Regions from separate parts of the Homo sapiens genome. Here all the other regions are linked to region 1. Evidence: promoter capture Hi-C in human tissues and cell types (Jung and others, 2019). All regions are on one chromosome and are shown on one strand. Each heading gives the region's core, a stretch centred on a gene start or on the middle of the fragment in contact. The rest is flanking DNA. Distances are from core to core; before and after follow the strand shown.

Evidence for each region. The method cuts DNA at HindIII sites, captures the fragments that hold promoters and counts their contacts. A contact is called where the count stands out against the background at its distance.
Region 2: a fragment that was not itself captured here is called in contact with the fragment with the promoter of CCBE1 in region 1 in 3 of the 25 tissues and cell types used here (H1 embryonic stem cells, IMR-90 fibroblasts and aorta).
Region 3: a contact is called between a fragment that was not itself captured here and the fragment with the promoter of CCBE1 in region 1, in 1 of the 25 tissues and cell types used here (IMR-90 fibroblasts).
Region 4: a contact is called between a fragment that was not itself captured here and the fragment with the promoter of CCBE1 in region 1, in 1 of the 25 tissues and cell types used here (heart right ventricle).
Region 5: a fragment that was not itself captured here is called in contact with the fragment with the promoter of CCBE1 in region 1 in 1 of the 25 tissues and cell types used here (IMR-90 fibroblasts).
Region 6: a contact is called between a fragment that was not itself captured here and the fragment with the promoter of CCBE1 in region 1, in 2 of the 25 tissues and cell types used here (IMR-90 fibroblasts and bladder).
Region 7: a contact is called between a fragment that was not itself captured here and the fragment with the promoter of CCBE1 in region 1, in 4 of the 25 tissues and cell types used here (IMR-90 fibroblasts, heart left ventricle, lymphoblastoid cells and 1 more).

What each region holds. Positions count from the first base shown.
Region 1 is chr18:59,695,015-59,699,374 of GRCh38, forward strand. CCBE1 (collagen and calcium binding EGF domains 1) reads right to left here and starts at 2,409. Exons shown (of 11, transcript NM_133459.4): 1 at 2,198-2,409; 2 at 1,615-1,695. The coding sequence starts at 2,328. The HindIII fragment of the contact is 11,314 bases long and covers 1-4,360 here.
Region 2 is chr18:59,927,439-59,931,798 of GRCh38, forward strand. LOC105372151 (a long non-coding RNA gene) reads left to right here. Exons shown (of 3, transcript XR_935546.3): 1 at 1-117. It also overlaps the pseudogene PLEKHB2P1. Among named protein-coding and RNA genes, the nearest start is that of PMAIP1, 30 kb to the left of the region's middle. The HindIII fragment of the contact is 4,531 bases long and covers 1-4,231 here.
Region 3 is chr18:59,471,597-59,475,956 of GRCh38, forward strand. All of the region lies in intron 3 of CCBE1 (collagen and calcium binding EGF domains 1), which reads right to left. Among named protein-coding and RNA genes, the nearest start is that of LMAN1, 110 kb to the left of the region's middle. RefSeq lists a silencer at 943-1,102. The HindIII fragment of the contact is 7,199 bases long and covers 1-4,360 here.
Region 4 is chr18:59,491,716-59,496,075 of GRCh38, forward strand. All of the region lies in intron 2 of CCBE1 (collagen and calcium binding EGF domains 1), which reads right to left. Among named protein-coding and RNA genes, the nearest start is that of LMAN1, 130 kb to the left of the region's middle. The HindIII fragment of the contact is 5,575 bases long and covers 1-4,360 here.
Region 5 is chr18:59,509,720-59,514,079 of GRCh38, forward strand. All of the region lies in intron 2 of CCBE1 (collagen and calcium binding EGF domains 1), which reads right to left. Among named protein-coding and RNA genes, the nearest start is that of LMAN1, 150 kb to the left of the region's middle. The HindIII fragment of the contact is 8,998 bases long and covers 1-4,360 here.
Region 6 is chr18:59,547,159-59,551,518 of GRCh38, forward strand. The region is part of intron 2 of CCBE1 (collagen and calcium binding EGF domains 1); the gene reads right to left. Among named protein-coding and RNA genes, the nearest start is that of CCBE1, 150 kb to the right of the region's middle. RefSeq lists an enhancer at 299-812. The HindIII fragment of the contact is 6,701 bases long and covers 1-4,360 here.
Region 7 is chr18:59,824,514-59,828,873 of GRCh38, forward strand. It overlaps the pseudogene RPLP0P12. Among named protein-coding and RNA genes, the nearest start is that of PMAIP1, 73 kb to the right of the region's middle. The HindIII fragment of the contact is 4,048 bases long and covers 193-4,240 here.

The DNA.
Region 1 (4,360 bases), core at 1,159-3,658:
AAACACCACACTGCTTTAAGAAGTCTGGAAAAGATGACAGTAATGGCATTAACAAACAATCAGGCACCAAATGGTTTCTGAAAATCTAACATGCATTCTGTAACTGTCACTGATTTATGTGAAGTCCGACCTTCAGGGACTGAAAAAATGAGCAAACCATCTCAGAGACATTTCCCATGTTAAATTCGAGGCTTTATACTGTGCTGATAGGAAAACAATGTGTCCTAAGAAACACTGTGGTCGTGTGGATGAAAGACACGGCTGGAACCAGGCAAGCAATCCTGCTGCCAGCACCACCAGGTCACTTCACCAGCTCGGTGACCTTGCTCACCCAGTTAGCCTCTTTAAGTCTTAACCTGCCAATTGAACATACTCCTTTCTCCTCTACTACCTCTCTCATTTTGTTCAGCATTCACCCCCCGCACACGCCAAGAGAAAGGAGCCTTTCCTAAGCCCAAGGAGTGACTTGATTTGCCTGATTATTGTCCCTTCACTGCCAACAACAGATTTAAGAGCAGAAGTACGCGATGTAACTGATGGTGCTTTTGCACCCATAAACTGACAGCCGTGGAACCACTTGGTCTGAACCTTTGGGTATATGAAATGCTCTCACCTGCAAGAAACGCTATGATTGATTCACAGGCTACAACCTTATAAGGAATAAAACATTGTTTTCTTTCAAGTTCGTTTCTAGGGACTGCTGCGTTACCTTGTACTACTCAGTATTTATCCTGGCAACCCGAACAGAGCATGTGAGTCTCCAGAGACAGTCAGGTGTGGGCATATGATCACATTACCTTGTACAGCGCCTCTAAAACGCAGATATCCAATAAACGTTTATGGGTGCATGTTCCCCTATCCAGTGAGAGCACTGGAACAGAACCAAGAATTCAATGGTGAAAAACCTAAATCAACCCTCATCTCCAAAAGGCTGCAAGCAGAACAGTGGTTCTCTCCTTTCAGAGACAAGAACCACCTGGGGAACATTTTATAACTACCGATTCCCTAGCCCCATCCACGCTTAGTTTTAACAAGCACCCGGGTCACTCATTTAACAAATACCCAGGTGAATCTGTGGCCCACATTTTTAGAAAGACTTTTTTCCTCTGCCCCAACAATCTTTTTGTTTTCACTCAACACAACCACTCACAATCCTCCCCCTACTTTTTTGTCCAGAGGCCGTGACAGCCACACTCTGCCCCAACAGAAGGTCAGAAGACAGACAAGTGCCAAGAATTGCCTTGTTGACGCTGTACTTTCAAAACAAAACACAAATACGAAAGCAGCCACCCGTGTTTGCTATGCCCCACTGTTTACACCCAAAATCCAATCCAATCTCCTTCACAGACTTCCACACAAGTATTTCAGGGAGCGGCAACCATCCTCAGGATCTCAGGGCACACACCCTAGACGCAAAGTCAGTTGCTCAGTGTTGCTCTGACTCCGATCCAACCAACCCTCAAAGATTCGCACCGCGCGGCACGCACCCAGCAGGTTCCAGCGTAAAAGCTGCTCCGGTCCCAAGCGCGTCTCCAAACCCCTCCTTTACAGCGCCGCCTCCCCAGCCAGCCCCGGTGCGCAGTGGCGAACAGCCCGCAGAGCCCCCAGGCTTACCTGTAGCATGTGGTGAGCTCGCCTGAAGACTTCAGACACGGGTATTTAGTCGTCGCGATTTTGCTCTCTGAGCAGATTTCTCTATGAAAAAGTGCAGAGGAAATGTTCGATTCTCAGCGGGAGAGCGGAGGCGGGCAGCGCGCGCTGGGGAATCCCTGGCGCGTGGGGATCGCCAGGCTCCCCGTCCCGGCGCTCTGGGCAGGGGCTGGTCCCCAAACGCGTACGCGGGGCAGACTCCGGCCACAGGGACGAGCCACGCGAGGGTCACGACGAAGCGAACCAGCTCCAGGAGAAAGGAAGCGGGGTTCACGAGCTGTGCCAGCCAGTGTGGCACCCGGGGGGAGGCAGGAACGCGGGGCGAAGGGTATCCCTGACGCGACCCACGGATGGCAGGGCGCAAAGGCTGATACCCGGGAGCGGAGGGAAGTGTCGCCCAGGACAGCTGAGCACTCTCCTTATCCCCGGAGAAGTGAGGGCGTGCGGATCGCTGTGGGAGTGGGCGCCGGGGAGGACCGCCCGCACCCCGCGAGCCGGGCGCGCATCAAGCAGGAGCTCGCCCTCCGCTGGGGCTTGCAGCGCTTACCTGTCGCCGTCCTCCGGCTCCTCTCTGTAGGTCCACGTGTGTCCCAACGCCAGGAGCAGCAGCAGCGGACCCAGGCTCCTGCCCAGCTGGCCCCTGGCAGCTCCTCCCCGGCTCGGAGGCGGCGGCACCATCAGGGAAGCTCCCGGCTTCTTCCCAGCGCCGAGCTCCGTCCGGACCAAGCGTCCTGCTCCTCCGCGGCCGCCGCCGCCTTCCCTCTTCCCGGCAGGGGGCGCCGGAGAGCAGGGGCGTTTGCACCACCTGCACGGGGAGCAGGGGTCCGGAATATTATGGGGCTGGGGGGAAAATGAGGCTAGGAGTTGGGGTATCGGATGCAAACCCAGCAGAGAAGCAGGTAAAGGGGGTACCTGCGGTGTCCGGCTGGCGCGAGGGCCCTGAGGTTCAAGTTGTCTCGTCGGGACGTTCACGTCCGATTGACAGACTTGCTGGACTCGGCTTGGGGCTGCGCCCTCGCCTCTTCCCTCTCCCTCCTCTGGGAGAAGCGCGCAGGGTGGGGAAAGCGGGCGGTTGTTTGCATTTTGCACCAGGGTCTCACGACCGGGAGGAGGAGGAGCTGATTCTCCACCGGGGAGAAGAGGGAGGGGGAAGAGAGGGGTTAATAAGCTTCCTTCCTGTTGTCCATGGGTTTCTAAAGCCCAGGGTCAGGCCAGTGTTCGTCTTTCCTCCGTGAGGACCTACCCTGAGATTTGCAACTATCTTAGTCTTCTTTTCTCTTAGATTATGTGAGGAAGGAGGAGTTGAAAGGCTACAACGGGCCTCTCAAATTGTTCAAACCTGAAATAGCGCTATTTATATAGTGTAATCACTCTTCCTTAAAACCTTTAGAAGAAAGTTCTCTGGTTGTTTCATTGGTCAATAAACCATGCGCTGTCTTCTTCATAACTCGAGTTCGGAACAAGTAAGGAGGTCTTTCTGGGAGCCTTACATCTCCTTGTCCTGAGCGGCTTTAATACTGTTTCCACGCCGCGCACATCAGAGCTGGAAACGCCCCCCCCCATCAAATGAGACACGTGGGGGCAAATTAATTACAGGTGCTGCTACCTGCTAGTGTATGCAGCCGCGTTGATAGGTAACAAGAAAACGGAGGAGGGGGGCCGTAAATCGGCTCCCTTGACGGTGACCCTAATTGTAATTCGTGTGTCAGCAACTTAACACTTTGTTGCGCTTTAGGAGTTTTCTCAGCCTTTTCCAGAGAAACTGGGGACGTGGATGTGGCCCAGAAATAAGTTGAAAAAGGAAAAGTTCTAATGCCTAAGCTCTAAAATATGCGTGGTTCTGCATCTCACAGGACAACGAGGTAAAAAGGTGGCTTGTTCACAAGTGACCGGTGTGTAAATTGGTTAGGTAAGCACATATTTTGATATACAGAATATGCTGGTCAACTGAGAATTACCACACATATCACATACACATTGACTTTTTTTTTTTTTTGAGACGGAGTCTCACTCTGTCGCCCAGGCTGGAGTGCAGTGTCTCGATCTTGGCTCACTGCAACCTCCGCCTGCCGGGTTCAAGAGATTCTTCTGCCTCAGCACCCCAAGTAGCAGGGATTACAGATGCATGCTTCCACACCCGGCTAATTTTTGTATTTTTAGTAGAGACAGAGTTTCACCATGTTGGCCAGGCTGCTCTTAAACTCCTGGCCTCAAGTGATCTGCCCAACTCGGCCTCCCAAAGTGCTGGGATTACAGGCGTGAGCCATAGCAGCCAGCCCACACTGATATTTTTGATAGCAATGACATTGTCATTCTTCCGTAGAATGCTATGTCTTTTCCTAAGATTTTTCATATTCAAGATTTTATTTGGTTCCCACAATATCCCTTCAATCTGAGCATCTGATTTCTTAGTTCTGTGAGGTGTGTTTTTTGTTGGCTTATTTTACAAAACTTACATATTCGGAAGACCACCCACTTGATATTAAAATATGACACTGCTACTTAACACAAATGAGTTAATTTTTATTTGATAATTCAGAAGACATTTCAGGATGTTGCAAAACTGGAGAGTGATCATCATGAGGTCAGAAAAAAAAAACCATGAGGTCAGAAAAAACTGGATTCAAACTCAGGCTGTTTGGTTTCCTGGAGGAGTGATCTGAAGCAATTTACTTCTGACACTCTGTTTTCTCATCTGTAAAATGGGGAA
Region 2 (4,360 bases), core at 716-3,215, 230 kb after region 1:
AGAAAGGAATCTATAATTGGCAAGAAAGACCAAGCTTAATGTCAAAGCCGTTTGATAAGTCTGAGATCACAGAATGTCTAGGCCAAGACTTAGTCAGAATGAAACATGTTTCTGGAGGTAAGTGAATGAGATTAGGGAAGGGGAAGACACAGCTGTTTATCATGTGACCTTTTCTTCCTGAACGTTCCGCAAAGAATTGTTGTGGGGCCTGATAAGACATACATGGGAGACTAAAAGCTTAATGACACTCAACTCCTGCCAACCTAGTTCTCACTGTGTGCTTGGGAGAAGGATTCCTACTCTTGGGTTTCTGTCCCTTCTTCCCCACTCTGGTGTGACTTCCTTGAGGTGAGCCATCTCTGCCTCCTCCATGAAATAATTGAACCAGAGAAACTTCTCAAATGTGGGTGGATTTAGAAAAAGATACGCGTGTGAGGAGAATGATTGAACACCTTGTATATGGGGTGATGCAGTGGTGGTCCCCCGAAGCAGTAACTGCTGTAGTAGCCTTCCCCGTTGGGCCCTGATGCTGCAATGTTGTGTGAACTTGGACCAATTAATGTTACATTTCAATGTTCTTACTTGAAAAATAGGTAGTGTAAAATCTACTGCACTAGCTGGATTAAAAGCAAAATTTCTAGTTTCATAGGTGGAAGTTGAAGCAAGATGTTTTTCCTCTAAGTGCATGGGGCCTTTATACAGAGAAGCTAGCTGCATGGAATATGAGTAAAACAAAAACCAATTCAAACGCTGCTTCCAGTCTGTTTTAGTTTAGCAGGAAAAAAGACAGAAGGGAGAAAGAGGCTGCAGTTTTCCTCCACTTCATTAGTGACCTGGGGAAATGGAGGGGGCACTATTCCAGCAGCTTACTGGTGCCTGAAATGTGTTGACTCACAAAACTTTTGATACCAAATGTGTGTGGGTTTGTTTTTCTTCCCCTCACATTAAGCAGTTCTCTAGTTCTTCGGACAACTGGGTGATCTACAATTCCATTCAAGTCTGATAATTATTACCTGGAGTTAGTGCAGGTCCCATAGCTAAGGGCTCAGTCCCACAAGATTGGCCTCACTTCAGATGCCAATCGCATGTCCTGAGTTGCCACCTGCACTTTGGTTCTGATTGGCTGGCTATAAATCAGGAGTTTCCATGCCCTTCTCCTCATGTTTGAGAATTTGATGGAAAAACATGGGAAAACCCTTTACTTACATTTACTGGTTTGTTATAAAGGATACAACTCAGAACAGCCAAATGAAGAGACACACAGGGCAAACTATGGGGAACGGGTGCCCCATTCCCCCAGCACCTCCATTAAGTGCTGGATGGTGACGAAGACATACTCAGTCCCTCTTCTAGTGGCCAGGGTTGTAATGCAGAGTAAAATCTGAAGAACCCCTGTAAATTGTATGCTAAATTAAGCTTAAGTGAGCACATACTATTTTCTAGGGCTCAAGTCCAAAGGTTTCATTAAATTTTTAAAGGTCTCCTTGGCTCATAAGAGTTTAATGATCATTCGTTAGAAGTAGATGAAAAGCACCCCAAATTATCTTATGTTTCCCAATTCATTTTATGAAAGCTAGCATTACATTTTATAAAAGCCAATAAAGATATTTCAAAAGTAAAACTATAGGTTGATTTTACTTATGGATATAGGTGTAAAAGTTCTAGAAAAAATATTCACAAACCAAATGCAGTATTACATTAGAAGAATAGATATTGGTGTGACAGTTGGAGCTGAGGAAACCCAGTGGAGTCTTTGCATTCTCCACTCTGGCTGGTGGGTGAAGAGATGGCCTGAAGAGTGGCTGGTTGCTGCAACAGAGTGCTATATTGAAGTTCTGGAATAAGAATTGGTTTGACCTGTGGTCAGATGGTACCTGACCTATTATGATGACCAGACTTGGCAGAGTGTTGAGGATAAGGTCCGCATGCAAGTGGAATGCCTCAATATCCCTGCCAGGCAGGAATGTCGGGATAGTCAGCCTCTGCATGGAAAGTCAAAAGACTGCAAACTGCCGGGAGTGGTGGCTCATGTCTGTAATCCCAGCACTTTGGGAGGTCGAGGCAGGCGGATCACTTGAGGTCAGGAGTTCGAGACCAGCCTGGCCAACATGGTGAAACCTCGTCTCACCTAAAAATACAAAAATTAGCCAGTCATGGTGGCACGCACCTGTAATCCTAGCTATTTGGGAGGCTGAGGCAGGAGAATTGCTTGAACTTGGGAGGTGGAGGTTGCATTGAGCCGAGATTGGGCCACTGCACTCCAGCATGGGTGACGGAATGAGATCCTGCTCCCCCCCAAAAAATGTATAAAATATATATTATATATTGTATAATAAATAATACTTATATATTATATAATTATATTTAAATATAATATACATTAATATTTAAATATAATTATATAATATATAATATTCTTATTAAAATATGTATCATATATAATTTATATATATGATATATATATATGGAAAAAGACTGCATGCTGCAGATTGTTTGCTCAGATGGGAAAACAATTAGTCTTTGTGCAGAAAACACAGTGATTGCTTGGCTTGGAAATTTACACTCCAAGATTCCAGGACAAACACAGCCTATGTGGGCTCCACAGTCATGACTGATGAGACACCCGTGGTTTCCTCCCCTCCACCACACACGGCCTATGCTGCACCAGCCACTGAGGAATAGGGCTATGAGCCATACAGTGGTGTGTGCCTGCCAGGAACTCAAATTGTCTATGCTGCTAATGGACAGGCGTATGCTGTGCCCTACCAGTACTCGTATGCAGGACTTTATGGACAGCAGCCTGCTAACCAAGTCATCATTCAAGAGTGATATCGAGACAATGACAGTGACCTGGCAGTGGGCATGTTGGCAGGAGTGGCCATAGTCATGCCCTTAGGGTCTCTATTCTTGGTCTTCTAGAGGCCGTAAGGTCTTGATGTGCCTAGCTCCTGATAACCCTGTGTGCAGTAATATGATTTACAGGGCATTTCTGTTTGTGACAAATGTTTTTAATAATAATTTTAATCGTTCCTTTGAAAGTAGTGACATCATAATTGTAACTAATCCACATAAGTACCACAGAGAAAGGTTTGAACTGTGCTATTTTTTTCTTTTTTCTTTTTTCTTTGAGATGGAGTCTAGCTTTGTCGCCCAGGCTGGAGTACAGTGGCGTGATCTTGGCTCACTGCAACCTCTGCCTCCAGGGTTCAAGTGATTCTCCTGCCTCAGCCTCCCGAGTAGCTGGGATTACAAGCACGTGCCGCCATACTCAGCTAATTTTTGTATTTTTAGTAGAGATGGGGTTTCACCATGTTGACTGGGATGGTCTTGATCTCCTGACCTTGTGATCTGCCCACCTCGGCCTCCCAAAGTGCTGGGATTACAGGCATGAGCCACTGCGCCCGGCCAGAACTGTGCTATTTTGTTCAAACACGGGCTCTCCAGGGGCACTGGCTCATTCTAGGACTGTCCTTACGGAAGTCTCGGAATACTTTATTTGAGCCTAGCTGTTTTGAAAGGCATTTTCTTTTTAGAGTTAGGTGTAGTGCTTAAGGGATAATTTATTTTCATGTTATGCCAGTAATATAGCGTTGTATGCATCATGAGTGATTGTGGCAAGAAAATCTACAGCTCCTTTCTGTTTAACTTTTTCAAGCCACAGACCAGAACTGGTTGCATGTTACCTTAGGAGTTGTGGATTGGTAAGCTTCTGGTTACTTCTCCGAGGCTGTGGTGTGAGAGCCCCCTGACCCGCCTTCTGGGGCTCCACAGGCCCCCAGCAAGGGTGACTCCTCAGGATGAGAGGGCACAGCCAGCCTTTGAAAAAACGATGCTTCAGAAATCTGCGTAACCCTACTGTCTTCTTTTTCTTTCTTTTCTTTGCTTTTTTTTTTTTTTTAAGACAGAGTCTCGCTCTGTCACCCAGGCTTGAGTGCAGTGGCACGATCTAGGCTCACTGCAACCTCCACCTCTCGGGTTCAAGCAATTCTCTGCCTCAGCCTCCCGAGTAGCTAGGATTACAGGCTCCTGCCACCAAGCCTGGCTAATTTTTTTTTTTTTTTTTTTTTTTTTTTTAGTACAGATGGGGTTTCACTATCTGGGCCAGGCTGGTCTTGAACTCCTGACCTTGTGATCCACCCGCCTTGGCCTCCCAAAGTGCTGGGATTACAGGCTTGAGCCGCTGTGCCCGGCCCCTAGCTTCTTATTCTCAGGTTATTCTTGTATGGTTTTGGTAGCTATATTTGGGAAACATATCCCTCATTAGGAATTGATTTGAGCTTCTGAGTGTTAGGGTTTTATCCTTTAAAACTTGGAGAAGTCAGAACAATAACAAACAAGCGTGTGGAGGCAGATTTGCTTT
Region 3 (4,360 bases), core at 1,285-3,784, 220 kb before region 1:
TTGGGGTGCCAGTTACTGAGCTTTCCCTCTTAGCTTCAAACACCCACCTTCTTCTTCCATGGGCTACTTTGTGACTTGGGCTCTGGAGACCACATTATTCCTGTGTCAGTTGCCAGCCTCTTCATTTCTGACAGTGACACACATAGAGACACAGACAGATACAGACAGGGAGGCTGGAAGAGGAAGAAAGGATATCTGCCTTTTTCTGGTTTGCTTCCTGGGCTTCCTATTCATGAAAGCCTAATATCAGCCTTTCTCTTCCATCCCACTAGCAGACTGTTTCAATAGCAGCTGCAAGCCGGGCATGGTGGCATGTGCCACCTCCGGAGGTTGAGGTAGGAGGCTGGCTTGAGGCCAGGAGTTCAAGACCAGCCTGGGCAACATAGTGAGCTCCTGTGTCTACCAAAAAGAAAACAGTAGCAGCAAAATCCAGCTTGTATTTTTTCCAACACTTGCAAAATCAGCCTCACTATATCCCATTTCAGAGACATCAGCACCAGCCAGCCATCTGGTAGCCCCTCCTCAAAGGTCTGGGTCCCTGATCCACTAGTAACTTCCTCTGAGTTCTGAGAAATAGGGCTTGCTAGCCAGTACCTCTTCCTCAGAGTGCTGGGTCCTCCAAACTTCTAAGTTTTCACTGGCCCAGTATCTTCTCTTTGTTTCCCTAGCCTAGAGGCGGTAGCTGCTTCCTGCAGTTGTTACCTCAATGATACTTAGTTTTCCTTTGCATTTTTGGTTCTCAATTACTAGTTAGCAATTCTTCATATTAATTGCTTTCTGTTAAATAAGTGGTGAAGGCTCTGTTTCTGGACAATTCAATCTACATATTCAGTTTTCTACAAATTGATCACTGATTCATCACCAGAGATCCCCTCAATTTTGCGAATCTCTTCTTATAGACATTTTTTCAAATTAATCTCAACTTGCTCTAATTAGGACTCTGTAGGTCTGCTGCACAGCAGCTACTACTCTTGGTCTTGAACTCCTCAAATAATCCTCGTCTCAGCCTCCCAAAGCGCTGGGATTACCAGCACCGCGCCCAGCCTACAGCTGCCTCCATGAATGTGCATTCACCATGAACCTAGGGATGCCCATCACCTCCCTCTCTCTTTTGTTGGATTCCTGTTTCCTGGATCTCTCATGTATTAGTCTGTTCTCACGCTGCTAATAAAGACATAGCTGAGACTAGGTAATTTATAAAGGAAAGAGGTTTAACTGACTCACAGATCCACATGGCTGGGGAGGCCTTACAATCATGGAAGAAGGCAAATGAGCAAAGTCATGTCTTACATGGTGGCAGACAAGAGAGAGCTTGTGCATGGGAACTCTCATTTATAAAACCATCAGATCTTGTGAGACTTACCACCATGAGAACAGTATGGGGAAACTGCCCCCATGATTCAATTATCTCCACCTGGCCCTGCCCTTGACACGTGGGGATTATTACAGTTCGATGTGAGATTTGGGTGGGGACACAGCCAAACCATATATCCATGTCTTTCTCTCTTCCAGTTTACTCCCTCATTTTAGTGGAGAATATTCTCCATTGGCTTCCTGAAAAATGTCATAAAAGGGGTAAAAGTTTTGAGATCATGCATGTCTAAAATATACTTTATCAACCCTTATGATTACTACTGATAGTCTGTGTATATAATTCTAGGTTGGAAAACTTTGCCTCAGAATTTTGAAGGCATTGTTCCATTGTCTTCCAGCTTTTCAATGCTGCTGCAGGGAAGTCCTGTGAGATTCAAACTCTTGAGCTTTTGTATGAATCACATCTTTTTTCCTCCCTAAAAATTTTTAGGACTTATATGGTACCACTTCAATCTTTGGTAAACCCTTTTTATAATCTGGAAATTAATATCCTTCAATTCTGAAGACTTTTTGAATTATATCTTTAAGAACTTACTCCCTCTGTGTGGAATTTTAAATTATTTGGATGTTGCATCCCCTGGACTTTATGTCTAATATTCTCATCTTTTTTTTTCCCTATTGTTAATTTCTTTGATCTCTTGCTCTCGTGCTTGGAAAACTTCTTCAGTATCACCTTCCAACCCTCCCACTATTTCCGCCCTCCACTACTCACCATCCAACCCTCCCACTACTCCCCCCCTACTACTCACCTTCCAACCCTCCCACTATTTCCTCCCCCACTACTCACCTTCCAACCTTCCCACTATTTCCTCCCCACTACTCATCATCCAACCCTCCCACTATTCCCCCCTACTACTCACCTTCCAACCCTCCCACTATTTCCTCCCCCGACTACTCACCTTCCAACCCTCCCACTATTTCCTCCCCCTACTACTAGTCTGCAGTGTCTTGTTCCTATGTTTATGTCCATGTGTGCACAATGTTTAGCTCCCACTTATAAGTGAGAACATGTGGTACTTGTGTTTTTCTCTTCCTATGTTAGTTTGCTTAGGATTATAGCCTCCAGCTCCATCCATGTTTTTGCCAAAGATATGATTTCATTCTTTTTTATGACTGTGTAGTATTCCATGGTGTATATGTACCACATTTTCTTTATCCAATCCACTACTATGGGCACCTAGGTTGATTCCATGTCTTTGCTATTGTGAATAGCACGGTGATGAACATAGAAATACATGTGTCTTTTTGGTGTAATGATCTATTTTCCTTTGAATATATACCACTGCTGGGCCAAATGGTAGTTTCCCTCTAATATCTGATGATCCTGAGACGGCTGCTCTAGTTTATTCACGGTGTATTTAAAACAGATTAATAGAATCTGTTTGCATATAGTTTTATGATTTTATGACATCTGGGTATCACTGTAAGTGATTTGGCCAGTGCATTACAAGTTCAGTTTCTTAAGACCTTTTCCTTGGGTTGTCTAGAATGCCCACAGAAGACATTTCCAAATCCTTGCCTGAGAGTGAAGTCATTCTGGAACTCAAGTGAAGGGAGAAGGCTGAGGGCTTCAAAATTCAATGTGTGAGCATTTACCGAAACCCTCCTTTTTCAGTACTGGGCATTCATTTTCAGCTGACTGGTCTCCTTCAGATCCTTGAACCTCTGGTGTACTCTCTTAGAAAATATATCTTCTGTCTTCTGTCTGGTTGTGGAAAAGGCAATATCCTGTCTGTATGGAGCAGAGGACAAGATCCAGGAGTCTGACTTCTTCTTAAACTTTTAATCAATCCTGTTTTCACACTACTTTTACCCCTTTTTCTAGTTTATTTGTAGTGTTACTGATTACTGTTTGTTTTGGTGTAAATTGGGGTTGCTCCTTGGTTTCCTTAAGCTGGCTACAATTCAACCTTTTGGATTGTGCTAAGCTATTTACCACCTCCCTCTCTGTTCTCCAGCTTCCAAAGTTTTATTGCTATTATCTCCTCTTCCCATTTTGTCCTCGTGGGTTTGTCTTTTGTGAATCTTTCCAGCCTCCTCCTCCTGCCCTGCCCATTTTGTGCATTTTCTGGAGGAGGCAAGATTAATGAATTTATTCAGTCCTCCATTTTTGATGCTTGTTCCCCAGAGCCTACCAGCTTTCAGTCATGTAGCTTTTATCTTTACAGTGTATCTATTTTCTATCCTCTCTGTCCTATTTCTTTTGGCACCATTCTAACTCAGACCTTCAGAAACTCCCTTGTAAACAAGATCTTCATCCCAAGATTCTTACCATCCCAAGATTAAATCCATTTGGGATAACACTGCCAGGCTAACCTTCCCAAAGCATAGCACTGTGTACACCATCCCCTTGTTTAAAAACCTTTACAACTTGCTACTAATCAACATGAAATATAAATGGTTCGCTCCTGTATTTAAGTTCTGGCATTATATCCCTTGAGACTTTTCTAACCTTGAGACTTATCTGTAAGTTCCTTATACTGCAGCAAAACTAACTTCTCTTTTTCTTCACCCCTTATTCACATCCTTGCCTTCTCACCTCCATACTTTTGTTTATTCTGTTTTTACCTCTTGCAATGTCCTTTTATAATTGTTGATATCTTATCCAGTTTTTCAAGAGTTGATACAAATGCTACCCCTTCAAGAAGCCTTCCTTGACCTCCTCAACAGAGTTTAGTTTGTCTACCCTCTCACCGCCCATGGGACTCTATACCTCTTTTATTCCCATGCTCTGCTATATTTATTTATTATTTATTTATTTTTTTGAGATGGAGTCTCGTTCTGTCACCCAGGCTGGAGTGCGCTGGCACAATTTCGGCTCACTGCAACCTCCACCTCCCTGGTTCAAGCAATTCTCCCTGCCTCAGCCTCTGGAGTAGCTGGAATTACAGGTGCCAGACACCAGGCCTGGCTAATTTTTGTATTTTTAGTAGAGTCAGGGTTTCACTATTTTGGCCAGACTGGTTTTGAACTCCTGACCTCAGGT
Region 4 (4,360 bases), core at 1,268-3,767, 200 kb before region 1:
AGGCAGGAGAATCACTTGAGCCCAGTAGGTGGAGAATGCAGTTGAGCCGAGATTGCACCACTGGACTCCAACCTGAACAGCAGCGTGAGACTCTGTCTCCAAACAAACAAACAAACAAACAAAAAAAAACGTTTCATGGTCTATTCCCCAGCTAAGGTGGAAAAGAAAAGCATTCTGGAGGGCACTTTGGGAGGCCGAGGCGAGTGGATTGCCTGAGCTCAGGAGTTCGAGACCAGCCTGGGCAACACGGTGAAACCCTGTCTCTACTAAAATACAAAATTTAGCCAGGTATGGTGGCATGTGCCTATAATCCCAGCTACTCGGGAGACTGAGGCAGTACAATCATTTGAACCTGGAAGGGGGAGGTTGCAGTGGGCCAAGATTGTGCCACTGCACTCCAGCCTGGGCAACAGAGTGAGACTTTGTCTCAAAAAAAAAAAAAAAAAAAAAAAAGAAAAGCATTCTTGGTGTAGCCAGAGGTCTATGGCAAATAATCCACATGCATATTTTAAAATATTGCCTTCTATTTTTTTTTCCCTCTGGTAGAAGCCCCAAATTACCTACAACAGCTGCGTTTTCAGGTCACTAGTGTGACAGAGCCGTTTTCCCATATCTGCTATTCCCTTTTATCTATGGTAACCGAAATCCAAATTACAGCTGGGCACATAACCACCCAGAATTAAGGTAACATTTCCCAGCCTCTCATCCCACCAGGTATGGTCTTATGGATTAGACTGACCAACAGGATGTGAGTGACTGATGGTGGGCAACTTCCAGGCAGTGCCCTTAAACAGATGGGACACATGCCCTCCCTCCCTCCTTCCCCTTCTCCTTCCCATGAGTGTGAATGTGATTGCGGAGGTGATGAGCCATTTTGGACAATGTGACGTCAATGCCCTAGTGATGTAGATCAATACACAAGAAACCTGTATCCGTGACACCACTCGGTTGTGCATAAGAGAAAAATATTTCCATCTTATTTAAGCTGTTGTTTTTGGTTTCAATTACAGAAGCCCAATACACATCCAAAGCCAAAATGACAGAAGGAAATGGAAGAAAGGCCACTGAAATGCAGAGTCAGTGCACCTAAAGAGGCCCAGAGAAGATGTGGCCTTTATTTTGCCCCAGTAACAACTGTGCATGGAGCCCTTGACCCTTACAGAATGCTGACCCTTGAAGTGTAAATGTCTAGAGCCTTCCTTGTAAATTACCCAATGTGAAAGGAGGCTCTGCTTGGACAGGGCTGTGATCCTTCCTCCCACCACACTGTGGGCAGTTCCAGTGGCGCTCGGCCTTTCTGCTGCAGTTCACTGTATAAATGTGGCATTTCCAGGGAGATAGATCAGTACAGGAATCTGTAAATACAATTTGCTGATTCCAAGTTTCGTCTGCAGGTCAGTCACTTGAGAAATTAATGGGACAGTCTTAAAGGAGAGAGTTTCACTTGTAATGACTTTGAGAAGACAAAAAGGGAAGTGATCTGAGATAGTCTTTCTTAGGTTAATAAATCATGATGTGACAGATCCCATTCCTCACATGCATAAAATCCTCAAGGACAATGAAATACAATGGACATTAATTCAGGCCTAAGTCACTGGAAGGAGAAATTCATGTAACACCGAAAGTAGGATTTCTACTTTAAATCATTTACAGATGAGAGGAGGAACCTTCTATTTGTTTTAAATTCTGAACTTCACAGTGACCCAATATCACAGTAAAAATTTCTATTCCGATCAGTTAAAAACTGGAAATATTAAGTTTGACTTAAAGAAGAACTTACTATATACCAAGATAAGCATTTTCCATAGATTATTTAATTCTCATAAAAACTTTTTTTTTTTTAACAGGTGAGAAGCTGGAGCATAGAGCACTTCACTTGTTAAAATTAGTAGCTAAGCCAGGACATGAGCCCAGGCTGCTGGGCTCCAGAGCCCACCTCTTCCCTGAACTGCGTGTTACAGGAGACACAGATTAGTAAGATTTACATTTGGTAAACGAGCAATGTGGGAGAAATGGATATGCTTAGTGGTATGGTTTGACTGTGTCCCCATCCAAATCTCATCTCAAATTGCATCTCCCACAATTCCCACATGTCATAGGAGGAACCCAGTAAGAGCTAATTGAATCATGAGGGTAGGTCTTTCCCATGCTATTATAGTAATAGTGAATAAATCCCATGAGATCTGATGATTTTTTAAAAACAGGAGTTTCCCTGCACAAGCTCTCTCTCTTTGCCTGCCACCATCCATGTAAGATGTGACTTGTTCCTCCTTGCCTTCCACCATGATTGTGAGGCCTCCCCAGCCATGTGGAACTGTAAGTCCATCAAACCTCTTTCTTCCCAGTCTCAGGAAGCAGCATGAAAATGGACTAACACACCTGGCTAGGGACACACAAGACAGAGCAATACAAGCTTCGTAACAGAAGTGTAATGTGTCCTCTCAGTACAGAGGATAAACTCAATTTCAGGAGCCAGGGAAATACATAGGTTGGAGTTGCCTCTGCCCTAGAAAGATATACATAAGGGGCACCCATCCTCATTCACTACCAGCCCTGCCCCTCCAGGGTGGCCCAAATCCACTTTCTCTGTTGTGCAAGCTCAGCTTTCCTCTGGGGAATAATTTTCTCCATCCTTGGTTCAGATGATCCTTAGACAACCTTTAGGATGTCTCTCCCAAACCTGAACCTAATTTAATCTGTAGGGCATAAGAGGCTGGAAATAAAAGACTACAGACAGAGTCGTTAAAAAGGCTACTAAAATATTTCAGCCTAGAGATAAGAGCATGGAGTTGAAAAATGAGGACAGATTTTTTTTTTTTTAATGTTGGGGTTAAAATCTGTAGGACTTCCTAACACACTGGATATACAGAATAAAAAAATCAGAGAAGTCCAAGACTAGAGATTTATTTTTGTAGAGCTGCCTGGGGGATGAGGTTGCCATGAATGAATATGAATTAAATCAGAAGAGAGCTAATTACAAAAGATTTTTACAGCACAGAGTTGGGGATGACTAGAAGGTATTACATTCAGTTTGAACATGCTGCTTAATATGTTTTAGGCTATAGGCAGCTCCAGGGCAAGGCAGGGCATGGAGCTCTAGCGACGACCTGCAGCATGGCAGATGAAGCCAACAATGGATAAATGCACCCAGGGAGGGACCAGGTGCTGTGGCTCACGCCTGTAATCCTAGCACTTTGGGAGGCCAAGGCAGGCAGATCACTTGAGGCCAGGAGTCTGAGACCAGCCTGGCCAACATGGTAAAACCCTGTCTCTACTAAAAATACAAAAAATTAGCGAGGCATGTTGTCCCAGTTACTTGTGGGGCTGAGGCAGGATAATTGCTTGAAACTGGGAGGCGAAGGTTGCAGTGAGCCCGAGATCACACCACTGCACTCCAGCCTGGGGCAACAGGTAAGATCTGTCTTAAAATAATTCCTTCTAGCTCATGTTTCTTTTTTTCCCCTGAGGATGGAGGTGTACTTTTTTTGACCTATACTTTTTCTCTGAAAAAAAAATAGCCATTCATGGAACATTTCACACTTTCATATAACAATTACGTAACTGTGATTAACATGGTTAATCACCGTTTATGTACTTTGGATAATCGGTTTGGATAATTATTCAGACCCAGAGAATTCTTGAGCAAGGGGAGACCTTAACAGTCAAGTCCAGGGCCTCTTTTTTTTTTTTTTTTTCCAGAGCGGGAAACAGAGGTTCAAAATAGGAAAGTGATTTGTTCAGGTTCAGACAGCCAGTTTGTTGGCATCCTTGACATCACTTCCCTGACTAGCTCTTCCCTTTTTAACTCTCTGGCTTCTTTACTGTGCCCAGTTAGGCCACGTGGACATCTCCCCAGCCATGTCCTTGGCCCACGCCATCCCTGGGTGCTTGCCTTTTTTTTTTTTTTTTAAGAAACTTGTCTTGGTCATTCCACACATTGGTATATGTGAGCAGCTATGACTTGGAAGTGTTTTTGCAAACACGTGGAAAAGGAAGATGACCCTCTGACCCTCTGATGTGCCTTTAGATGTGGCACGCACAGTAAGTTCGGTATGACAGCCCAAGATGTACGAGGGGGCACTGCGGCCGCCCTGGTTCTCCAGGCAACTGCCGCTCTCGGGTGGTAATGACCTCTGGACAAACCTACACAAGTGGTGGTTCTCAAAGAGTAGATCACACGCTGGTCAACACGTGACTAAACTCAACCAGGACTTCCAAGGCCCAAGAAGAGATGTTCCTGGTGTAGGGTATACTCTTTTAAAACAACTTAGGCTCTTTGATAGTGGAAGCATTGTTTAATTAGAAGAGAGAAACTACCCCATCTCTATATTGAGTCCTATGGAGTTTGTCACTTATCATA
Region 5 (4,360 bases), core at 621-3,120, 190 kb before region 1:
GAAAACAACTATTTCATGTGCGCCCTGCACTGACCTTGAAATCCAGAGGGCTTCTTCCCTCTAAAAAGTATTTTTAGATCGGGCTGATTTACTAAATTACTAAATTACTCATTATTAATGAGCTGGGTGAGAAAAGGAATAACTATTTAAGCGACCCAACATGTTTTCAAAGCGATGTCATGGGGATGGTCTAAGGGGAAGGCCAGGGAGGGGAGTGGCTGTGCACATTTTGTTGTACAAGGACACCAGGCTGCCAGAGGCGAGAAGCCAGCCAAAAAAACATCACGGAACCCAAACACCAAGCTGCACTGGTGCTGGGAGTTCAAATTGTGAAATGTGAGCTATCATCATGGCAGATCCAAATACCGCCAACACTGGGAAGGCCAGCTGCAAAGAGGAGGAAACATCTTTTCCTTTGATTGTGAGAGACAAATCTATCTGGGTATCTATTTTTCCTGCAAGTCCATTGATCCTTGCTGCTGTGTGAATGGCAGAGGATGCTGGGGCCATTAGCCATATTTCACTGTGTGCATGAGTTCTGACAGAGGGAGCAGGGTGCTATGTTTATTAGGATTTAATGATATTTGCAGTTCAGAATTCTGCCACCTCTACTGTTGTTATGGAAGCTCATTAACTGAGACATTATCAATTGTAAGATGCACCATTAGTCTTTATAATATGAATAATTTTTAAGTTGCAAATTGAACTTTTTTTTTTTTGAGATGGAGTTTTGCCCTTGTCACCCAGACTGGAGGGCAATGGCGTGATCTCAGCTCACTGCAACCTCTGCCTCCCAGGTTCAAGTGATTCTCCTGTCTCAGCGTCTCAAGTAGCTGGGATTATAGGTGCCCGCCACCACACCCAGCTAATTTTTGTATTTTTAGTAGAGACGGGGTTTCACCATGTTGGCCAGGCTGGTCCTGAACTCCTGACCTCAGGTGATCCACCTGCCTCGGCCTCCCAAAGTGCTGGGATTACAGGCAGGAGCCACCACACCCGGCCAGTTGCCAATTCAACTTTCATAAATGCTTCCTTATCACTAAAATTCTTCCATATTGATTAAAATACATTTTTTCCTGATTATTGTATATTGCATGCATGCATAAAGAAACATAGACTAGTTAAGATGGTCTTAAAATGTCTTTGCATATGGATTCTGATTCTCCTGAATCTCTCTTACTGTCATCAGCTCCTGAGCTTTATCACAAAACACTGTCCTTTATACCATCAGGAGCATCGGTGGTGAGAGCTACCAGTCATTAGTACCAGCCCCATTCAGCTGGCTCTGGAAGGACCTAGAGCCTATGTCTGACCCCTGCTCTGAGAATACTGCTGAAGACAAGGGATTCACCACTCCCTACCAGAGTCCTGTGTCTTCAGGACTTTCTTTCCAGCAGCTGAAACCCTGACTTCGTTTTTATGCTGCTATGTTTGCTGTTTGTGCACTTGCAAGTACTGGCAACTATACCCTAACTGGTGCCTAACTAACTGCCAATAAAAACACATTCCAACTTCAGAGATACAAAGATACAGAAGACAGAGAAGTTCAAGACGAGCAGTGGAGCACTGATGATGGCACTAATTGATGGCATTTAATCAGAATGATAACGATTATGTTCTAGTTCTAGAGAACTTGACATATTCAGAGCTCCTGAAAGGCCCTTGCCCACATCACACTTTAGAACCTCTTGCTCCATCATCAGTGAACACCAGCCTTGAAGAGATCCATTTACAGTTGGGCTGAGCCAATCAAATTTGCTTAGGAGGTTTGAAAGTTATTTTATGGATACACAGCAGATGTACATATTTTCTTACATTCATATAATGTGTAAAGATTAAATCTGGGTAAGTGGGATATCCATCACCTTAAACATTTATCTTTCCACGAGGAACATTCAAATTATTCTGTTCTAGCTTCTTTGAAATGTACAATCGATTATTGCTAATTATAGTCACCCTGCTGATCTGTCAAACATTAGGTCTTATTTCTTCTAACTGCATATTTGTAACCATTAACCAACCTCTCTTCATAAGAGATTGATGTCATCAGCAGGCTGTTGTGAGCACAACTCTACCCACTCTATAGCTGATGTAGCCATTTGGGGGAATCCATGTAAGTTGAAAAGCACAGGAACATGATCAAAAAGAGGCAAAATGGAACAGACTCGGAATCCATCGAGAGACAGAACAGGCATTTCATGAGACGGAGAAAATGACCTTAGCCCTTGATTTCCATTTCTTGTTCACATGAGGCTCATGTATCCTTCATTTTTTGTTTTTGGGCTTAATAGTTCCTCTGTAGCCATATGATAAATCTTCTTTTTCACCTGAGGTAGTTTACACAAGTTTCTACTTCCAGCAATCGTTAAGAGCTACAGTAGCGGTGTGATATGGAAGGAAGGCAGGAAGGGAAGTGCTGGGAAAGGTGTGGTCCCTTTAAATGATACCAAAGAAGCGAAGTGCTGGGTAGAGAAGGGTGTGGTCCCTGGCTAGGGCTCCATCCCTGGGCCTGTGCCCAGGGTCTAATTGACCTGGTTAACACAAGCCACCTATAGATGGCAAAACTGAAAGAGCACATGATAGCACATGCCCACTGGGGCTTCAGGAGCTGTAAACATCTACCCCTAGACACAGCCGTGGGGTTGGAGCCCCACAACCTGCCCATCTGTATGCTCCCCTCAAGGTTTGAGCAGTGGGGCACTGAAGCAAAGAGCAACAGTGCCTGCTGCATGCCCTGCAAGGGGGTACAAGGGAACCTTTCTAATTTCAGCAGGAGTTAGAAACCCCACTGCCCTCAACTCATCCATTAGAGGAACAGAATTAAAGAATGTGCTGGCCACGTGCCATTCCCTGTATGACAGACAGAGAGGCACGAAGTGCTGAGCGCCTTCCTGTGGTGCTGGCAGGCCCAGGGCAGGAAAGACCCCATAGTGGGGAGTCTCCACTCTCAGGGACTTTCTCAGGGTCCTGCTCTTAGAAACAGCACACTGTCTGCTAGATGACATGGAGCTGGCTGGCTGTTGATGAGGAAAAGGGTATTATTGAGATATGTGTTTAGGGAACAAATCCCGGGTAAGACAAAGAGCAGGCCCACGGCTCTCACTGGAGGGTGAAGATGTGGGAACATCAGCACCCCTTTCCTCTTACCTCCCACTCAGAGCCCATCCTGCACCCACAGCCTGAGAAACCTGGGCAGGAGACATCAGAGCACCTCTACGACAGGAGGGAAAAAAGAAAATGAGACTTCTTTGGAGGATGTGTGGTTTTCTTAAAGCAGAGGGTGAGGTTTGTCCATTTAAGAAAATTGAAAGAGCCCAGGAGCAGTGGCTCATGCCTGTAATCCCAGCACTTTGGGAGGCGGGTGGATCACTTGAGGTCAGGAGCTCGAGACCAGCCCAGCCAACATGGCAAAACCCCATCTCCACTAAAAATACAAAAATTAGCTGGGTGTGGTGGCAGGCACCTGTAGTCCCAGCTACTCGGGAGGCTGAGGCATGAGAATCGCTTGAACCGGGGAAGCAGAGATTGTAGTGAGCGGAGATTGTGCCACTGCACTCTAACCTGGGTGACAGAGAGACTGTCTCAAAAAAACAAAACAAAACAAAAAAATTCAAGAAAGGGCACAGGTGCAGGTGTTGGGAAGAATTAGCGGGAAAGTAATCCAGGCCCCAAAGGAGGGACAAGTCCAGGTACTGAGGTGTCTCTCTTGTCTGGCTGTCCAGGAAAGGACGCTTTTCAACTGTATACTTCCTTTGTGGCAATTTCTCAGGCTGCTCAGGCCTAACTTCAGTGTGGAACTTCCGACACCACAGTCAGGTAAGTCTGGAGGCAGGTGGCAGGACAGGTGGCCAGCTCCTAGTTCCATCAAGGAAGACAGGGGTGATCTGCTGGGTGGGAACTTTTGGTGGCAGAGATAGCCCATGAATCTCGAGGTGACAGAGAAGATAGCTTCTGGCTATCCTGAAAATTAGCAATGGCTACACTTTAGAGAAAACGGGGACGGGCCTGGCAATGGTAACATTAGAGGGCTTATCTCAAGTAGTGCTTTGTACCTCATATTAGAGACATGGAAATGGGGGCTCAGTGCTGGAGTTCAGACTCATGTCTGACTGGCTCCAAGCCTGTGCTCCTTCTGTTATGCCCGGCTGTCTCCCAGGAAGCAGGGGGAGAGAAGACCCCCTATGCCACACTTGGGCCATCACGGGCTAGCTACTGGAGGAACAGGGGACTTGCACAGCTCTGCTGATATGCAGTTCAGCCTGCAGGGACCCCAGTAGCCACAACGAGAACAGCAGTATCATCACCATCTTGCATGGGGCCGTGGCTTTACTATCCTTTCCAATGAACCCTCATATACACC
Region 6 (4,360 bases), core at 498-2,997, 150 kb before region 1:
AAAAGGAGAGGGAGAGAGAGGCACAATGGCTCACGCCTGTAATCCCAGCACTTTGGGAGGCTAAGGCGGGCAGATCACCTGAGGTCAGGTGAGGGGAGGGTTATCTGAGGGGAGCAGGGAGGTGGAAAAAATAAGACAGAGCAGTCATAGATCTGGAGTTCGAGTTGACCTTAGAGAAAACAGTAGAGCTCCTGGCAGAAATTAAAACTGGGCAAGTTAAGTTGATTTGGGGGATAAGACAAAGAGCCCTGTTTTCAAGATGTCAACTAGCAGTTGACATGTCCAGAAGGCAATAGCAGACAGAAAATTGGCCCCAGGGAGAGGGCAGCTTTGAAGATTCTGATTAGGGCATCATCAGCCACAAGAACAGAGCAATTTAAATTAGCACAAAAAACTGAAGGTGACAGATGACCAACATCTCACAGCTCATTAAAAGCACTCCTGGGACGTGGATCACACACCTGATAAAGATTTCAACACACAAAATATTTGCTTTGAGCTGAAGACAATTTTGGTCTAATGAGTGCTGACAGTACTTCTGGCTACACTTCATGAAATGGTCGAGACAAAGGAAATGTATGCAAACAGTGAGACCTCCAGTGGTGTGGGCTACGTCTGGGCGGCCCAGAAGCATGCTGACAGAAGCAGAGTGCTGGGGCACTAGGAAGGCTCTTCCTGCTTGGCTGCCACAGCTGATTCAGCAGGAGAAAACCGAGATCATCCTGTTCTCACAGGAAAGTGCAACCTGACCGAAATAAGAACACACGGGCATTTTGGCCAGGATTTTGAAGAATTTTACTTTCACACACTGCACTTTTATTCTCCTTGTGGTTGGAATGAAGAAATAGACACTCAGTGAATTGAAGTGCTTTAAAGAACCGAAAATGTGGTCACAGTGCCATCACGTGATGTGAACTATCTGCTGGATGAAATGTTCAAGAGTGCTGGAGAGAGACCAAGAGTTTATCCAAGACAGTCTCGTCTTATGAGTAAGACAACTGAGGTCCGAGATCATATCACTGGCCAGTGGTTTGTTGGGGCCAAGACTATGCCCCTTCACTCTCACTCAGTGGTCTTTCCTTTAAAAGAAAGATATCTTTGTTAGGAGAGCAGGTGGGAACATTTGTACTGACATGAAGACAATAAAATTATATGGATACTTTCTGATTTCTCTGGTTTCCATTATTTAAAGATAGTGAGTTATATCTAAAGGAAAACTTAAGAGGATGGCTTTGATCTTCCAGCCTATGAAGGAGGTGGGTTAGGGTGAATAGAGATTGCAGGGTGTGGCTAGGTCATCAGGATTCCTTTCAAGAACAAGAACAGAGCAACTTAAATTTCCTGTGATCTGACAAGACGCAATCATATAAAAAAGAAATCTAGGAAGCCCTCCTGAGAGACCCTACATAGGGAAAATCAGCTGCTGTCATGCAAATGAAATCACCAACTGACCAACCCATTGCAGAAAGCCCTTACAACCAAGAACACCACAAGCAAAGAAATACACTTTGGGCCAGGCACAGTGGCTCATGCCTGTAATCCCAGCACTTTGGGAGGCTGAGGCAGGCAGATTACCTGAGGTGTTCAAATAGCCTACCATACATGTAGGCTATATGGTGTGGCCTATGCTCTCAGGCTACAAACCTGTACATGTGACTAATGAATACTGTATGCAATTGTAACACAATGGTAAGTATTTGTGCATCTAAACATAGGAAAGTTACACCTGAGGCCAGGAGTTCAAGACCAGCCTGGCCAACATGGCAAAACCCCCTATGTATTAAAAATACAAAAATTAGCCGGGCATGGTGGCGCATTCCTGAAACCCCAACTACTCGGGAGGCTGAGGCAGGAGAATCACTTGAACCTGGGAGGCAGAGGTTGCAGTGAGCCAAGATCATGCCACTGCACTCCAGCCTGGGCAACAGAATAAGACTCCGTCTCAAAAAAAAAAAAAAAAAAATTCACTTTGCATGGTGAGGGTCTTCTTTTCACTTGGATATATAGACCACACCGTGTTTCACATGTGATCAAGTATAAAATATTCCACACTGCAAAATAGCAAGGTATGATTCAAATATAGCAGTGTTCTAGAAATGTAACATTGGTAAAAAATAATGCATCAGGATGAATGCAAATTTTAGCTAAGCCATTCTTCTTATTCTTCTGTTTTTCTTATTATGCCATCTCCTAAAGAATTTCAGGTCAAACTCCAGTTTGAAGGAGCAAATGATACAAATGAGCACCCCACCAAGGGCTATAAAAACAGGTCCCCCAACGCCAACCGAATTAAGAGCGTCTAATATTTTATTGCAGTAATTGAAGCTGATTTTTAAAATAAACTCCATCTGGTGCACCGGGGCTCAGGAAGGTAACCTCTGTCAGTCAGGTGATTAAGACCTTGGGAACAGCAAAGACCTTACTCCAAGTCCCACTGACTTCTGTTAATACCTGAGCAACTGTCAGGAGGGAGATGCCAGAACACACCAATTATTATATGATGAACAGGCAGGCCCAGCAGTCAAATGTGCTGCAGTGATATAGTACCCAGTTGGGCAATTAACTTGTCCCTAGCAAAATTTGTGGACAACAAAGCACTTATAATCTACAGCTGCTATCCACATTGGTCAGTGATTGCACTGAAATTGATTCTTCTCAATAGGCATGGGGTAAAGAGTACAGCAATGTGACATTAGTGGCCCACTCATTTTGCAGAGTCTGCCCATTATCCTCCCCATCATGCAGATAAGCAAGCTGAGACTCAGAGTAATTTGCCCAAGGATACAATAGAGGACCTTGTGCCAGATGGTTGTTGGACTGCTGCCTGGCTTTCTCTGGAGCCAACGGGCAAGGACATTATTGGAATGGGCACTTTCAGGAATCCTTAAAGCATCTCTGGGTCCAATCCGGTTTGCTTTGTTTATCCCCAGCTTTAGCTTGTTTACACAAAAGTTACCTGGAGACTGTGTCATCATTCAAACCCTATAGATACCCAAGCCAGCAAAACCACCACAAGCTCTGGAGCAGCCTCTTGGTGGGCAAGCTTCCTCTAATTCAGGGATTGGCAAACTATGACCCATGGACCAAATCCAGTCCACTGCCTGTTTTATGAATAAAATGTGCTGGAACACAGCCATACTCATTTGTTTCCACATTGCCTATGGCTGATTTCGAGTGACAACAGCAGAGCTGAGTGGTTGTGACAGAGGCAATCTAGCCTCAAAAGCCTAAAATAACTATCTGGCCTTTAGAGAGTTTTCTGGATCCTAACTGGTGGCGTCGCTGCTCAGAAGGGCCTTCATCTGCACTCAGAAGCCTTCACAACACCACCCTCCGCAGTGGGCTGACTCCCTGGTCAATCTTTTCCTTCCTCAAGTGGACTGGACTCAAAAGTACTCATAGGTTCCCTCAGGAAAGGAAAAGCTGCACCTCAGACAAGTTAGGCCTGCCCAAACCGTGAGCCCTGTGACGTTAGAACATTAGCAGCTCAAGAATCCTAATGCAAACCCCAAACAGCAGGTGCCATTCTCTGAAGGTGTTTTGGAAAACATTTTCCAACTCATGGAGACAGAAAAATACAGTCATGTGGGCTGGGTGCGGTGGCTCACGCCTGTAATCCCAGCACTGTGGGAGGCGGAGGCAGGAGGATCACGAAGTCAGGAGATCAAAACCCAGTCTCTACTAAAAATACAAAAAATTAACCGGGCGTGGTGGTGGGCGGCTGTAGTCTCAGCTACTCTAGAGGCTGAGGCAGGAGAATGGCATGAACCCAGGAGGCGGAGCTTGCACTGAGCTGAGATCGCGCCACTGCACTCCAGCCTGGGCAACACAGCGAGACTCAAAAAAAAAAAAAAAAAAAAAAAAAAAAAAAGAAAAGAAAAGAAAAGAAAAAAAAGAAAAAAGAAAAATAAAAATACAGTCATGCATTATAAGTTCTAAACAATGCATCATTAGGTAACTTCATCATTGTGTATACATCAGAGCATACTTACACAAACCTAGATGGCATAGCCTGCTATACATGTAGGCTGTATGCTGTGGCCTATGCTCTCAGGCTACAAACCTGTACAACACGTGATAATAAATACTGTATGCAATTGTAACACAATGGTAAGTATTTGTGCAACATAGAAAAGGTACAGTAAACATATAAAAAATGATATACCTATTACCTATAGAGGATACTAACCATAAGTACAGCCTGCAGAACCGGAAGAATCTCTGGATGGGTGAGTGAGGAATGAATGTGAAGGCCTGGGACATTACTGTACAATGCTGTAGACTTTATGAACACTCTACACTTAGGCTGCACTAAATTAAAAAGTAAAGCACACCACGATGCCACCATGGCTATATCATC
Region 7 (4,360 bases), core at 967-3,466, 130 kb after region 1:
AAGCGATTCTCCTGCCTCAGCCTCCTGAGTAGCTGGGATTACAGGCATGTGCCACCACACCTGGATAATTTTTTTTTTTTTTTTTTGTATTTTTAGTAGAGATGGGGTTTCTCCATGTTGGTCAGGTTGGTCTCGAACTTATGACCTCAGGTGATCTGCCCGTCTCGGCATCCCAAAGTGCTGGGATTACAGGCTGAGAAGACCTCCTTTTTCCAGGCTTTAGGCATCATCACTAAAACCTTTGGGCACCACTGAAATCCTGAGTGATGTGCAGCTGATCAAGACTGGAGTCAAAGTGGGAGCCAGCGAAGCCACACTGCTGAACATGCGGAACATCTCTCCCTTCTCCTTTGGGCTGGTCATCCAGCAGGTGTTTGACAATGGCAGCATCTACAATACTGAAGTGCTTGACATCACAGAGGAAATTCTGAATCCTCACTTCCTGGAGGGTGTCCGCAACATTGCCAATGTCTGTCTGCAGATTGGTTATCCAGCTGTTGCCTCCGTACCCCATTCTACCATCAGTGGGTACAAATGAGTCCTGGCTTTGTCTGTGGAGACTGATTACACCTTCCCACTTGCTGGAAAGTTCAAGGTGTTCTTGGTTGATCCATATGCCTTTGCGGCTGCTACCCCTGTGGCCACTGCCACCACAGCTGCTCCTTCTGCTGCTGCAGCCTCAGCTAAGATTGAAGCCAAGGAAGAGTTAGAGGAATTGGATGAGGATACAGGATTTGGTCTCTTTGACTAATCACCAAAAAGCAACTAAATCAGCCAGCTTTATTTGCAAAACAAGAAAATAAAGGCTTACTTCTTTAAAAAAAAAAGTATATTTAAAAAAAAAAATATATATATATATATATAGCCAATTCGTGAAATAATTATATTTCATTTTAATGAAAAAAATTGGGGGGATGTTGTTCCACTTTATCTATTTTTTATTTTACTTTTTATTTTAGACTCAAGGGCACATATGTAGGTTTGTCACATGGGCCTATTGCATGATGCTGAGGTTTGGGGTATGATTGATCCCGGCACCCAGGTAGTGAGCATAGTACCCAATAGGTAGTTTTTCAGTCCTTACCTCTGTATGTCCCTCCCCATCTAGTAGTCCCTCTGGTAGATGTCTATTGTTCCCGCCTTTATGTCCATGTGTACCCAACGTTTCTGTTTGTTTGTTTGTTTGTTTGTTTGTTTTTGAGACAGTCTCGCTCTGTCACCCAGACTGGAGTGCAGTGGAGCAATCTCGGCTCACTGCAACCTCTGCCTCCTGGGTTCAAGCGATTCTCCTGCCTCAGCCTCCTGAGTAGCTGGGATTACAGGTGCCTGCCACCACATCCGGCCGATTTTTGTATTTTTAGTAGAGACGGAGTTTCACCATATTGGTCAGGCTGGTCTTGAACTCCTGACCTGGTGATCCACCCACCTCGGCCTCCCAAAGTGCTGGGATTACAGGTATGAGCCACCGCGCCCGGCCTCATGTGTACCCAGTGTTTAGCTACCACTTATAAATGAGAATATTTGGTATTTTTCTGTTTCTGTGTTAATTCACTTAGGATAATGGCCTCTAGCTGCAACCATGTTGCTGCAAAGGACATGATTTCATACTTTTCATGGTTTTGTAGTACTCCTTGGTGTATATGTACCATTTTCTTTATCCCGTTCACCATTGATGGGCACCTAGATTGATTCCATGTCTTTGCTACTGTGAGTAGTACTGTGATGAACATACAAGGGCAGGGGTCTTTGTGGTAGAATGATTTGTTTTCCTTTGGATATATAGCCAGTAATGGAATTACTGCTGGGTTGAATGGTTGTTCTAAGTTCTTTGAGATATCTCCAAACTGCTTTCCACACTGGCTGATTTAATTTTCATTCCCACCAACTGTGTATAAGCCTCCCCTTTTCTCTGCAGCCTTGCCAACATCTGTTTGCTTTTTTTTTTTTGTTTTTGTTTTAGTTTTTACTTTTTAACCTATTTATGCTGGAGATTGCTCTTTTTTTTTTTTAAACTAGACGTTGGGCAATGACCTTGAGCTGTAGGATATAAACAACTTCCACAAGCTTAGCGTTCCAATAATGGAACACTAGGCATAAATGGCCTAATAATAGCCATTCTGACTGCCATGAGACAGTATCTCACTGTGGTTTTGATTTGCATTTCTCTGATGAATAGTGATGTTGAGCATTTTTTCATGTTTGTTGGCCGCTTGTATGTCTTCTTTTGAGATGTGTCTGTAAATATTAATACTATCTTGAAAGCAAGTTCAGCACTCCCCTTTATTTGAAATTGATTCTTGGGTCACATCAATGGGAGCCCCCAGCTTGAGGTTAAGTTCTTTATACTTATACCACCAGAATCAGTCTTCCTTCAACCAGTGGCTTGCTTTCCACACATTTCAGAACATGAGATGTTCCAAAATATCACTCAAAATAGGCCTTTTGGTCTACGTGGACACACAGGTAACACTGAGGCCACTTTTTGTCATTTTTTGATGACCCACCAATAGCAGCAAACCACATATACAAAGATTGATTTCTGGCAAGTAATTGCAAGTCTAGCCACACAAACCTATTGAAGATAATTGTTCTGAAACCTCAGAAGCCAGAGAAACAGAAATGTCAGAGGTGTTCAAACCAGAGCGACTCCATCTTGAATAGGGGCTGGGTAAACTGAGGCTGAGATCTACTGGGCTGCACTCCCAGGAGGTTAGGCATTGTTAGTCACAGGATGAGACAGGAGGTTGGCACAAGATACAGGTCATAAAGACCTTGCTGATAAAAAAAAGAGTTTGCGGTAAAGAAGTCGGCCAAGGCTGGGCGCAGTGGCTCACACCTGTAATCCCAGCACTTTGGGAGGCCAAGGAGGGTGGATCATGAGGTCGGGAGTTCAAGACCAGCCTGACCAATATGGTGAAACCCTGTCTCTACTAAAAATACAAAAATTAGCCAGGTGTGGTGGTATGCACCTGTAATTGCAGCTACTCACGAGGTTGAGGCAGGAGAATTGCCTGAACCTGGGAGGCAGAGGTTGCAGTGAGCTGAGATCGAGCCACTGCACTTCAGCCTGGCAACAAAGCGAGACTCCATCTCAGCCAAAAAAAAAAAAAAAAGAAGTTGGCCAAAACCCACCAAAACCAAGATGGTGATGAAAGTGACCTCTGGTCATCCTCATTGCTCATTATACACTAATTATAATGCATTAGATGCCAAAAGACACTCCCACCAGCGCCATGCCAGTTTACAAATACCATGGCAATGTCAGGAAGTTACGCTATATAGTCTGAAAAGGGGAGGAACACTTAGTTCTGGGAATTGCCCACCCCTTTCCCAGAAAACTCATGAATAATCCACCCTTTTTCTAGCATATAATCAAGAAATAACCGTAAGTTTCCTAGCTGAGCAGCCCATACTGCTGCTCTGCCTATGGAGTAGCCATTCTTTATTCCTTCACTTTTCTAATAAGCTTGCTTTCACTTTACGGATTTGCCTCGAATTCTTTCTTGCACGAGATCCAAGAACCCTCTCTTAGGGTCTGGATTGGGACCCCTTTAGAGTAACAGAAAGACTGAAGAAAATAAAGGGGACAGCAGATAAATAGAAAAAGAAAAATAGACAGTGTTGAAAAAAAAAAGCAGCAATTTCCATTTTTCTAAAGTAAGAGTGGGAATGAATGATAGATCCTCTGAACAAAAAATAAAAAGAAATGTAAGGGGTGCCGGCCAGAAGGCGACAATTTAATTTTACAGACAGTAAAATAGGCCAGGTGTGGTGGCTCATGTCTACAATCCCAGCACTTTGGGAGGCCGAGACAGGAGGATTGCTTGAGCCCAGGATTCTAGACTAGCCTGGGCAACATATGGAGACCTCATCCCTACAAAAAGTTAAAAAATTAGCTGGGCCTGGTGGTGTGTGCCTGCAGTCCTGGCTACTTGGGAGGCTGAGGAGAGAGGATTGTTTTAGCCCAGGATGCAGTGAGCTATGATCACACCACTGTACTCCATCCAGCCTGGGCAACAGAGCAAGACCCTGTCTCAAACAAAACAAAATAAAACAAAAACCCAGCAAAATAAAATGAATAATAATTTGAATTACTTGGAGATCCAATATCTTGATTTTCCAAGTCAATTAAACATGTTTATTAATAGATAAATGAGCATAATTCTGCTAAAAGCAGGGAACCCTCCCCAATCAACTACTCTAACACACACACAGATATACACTCACTCTTTGTAGAACCAGAGAGGGACTAATAATCAAATAAACTAAGTGCAAACCATCTAGAAAAAGTTTTTTTTTTCTCCTGAGTTTTTCCCAGGCTGGAGTGCAGTGACGTGATCTCAGCTCACAGCAACCTCTG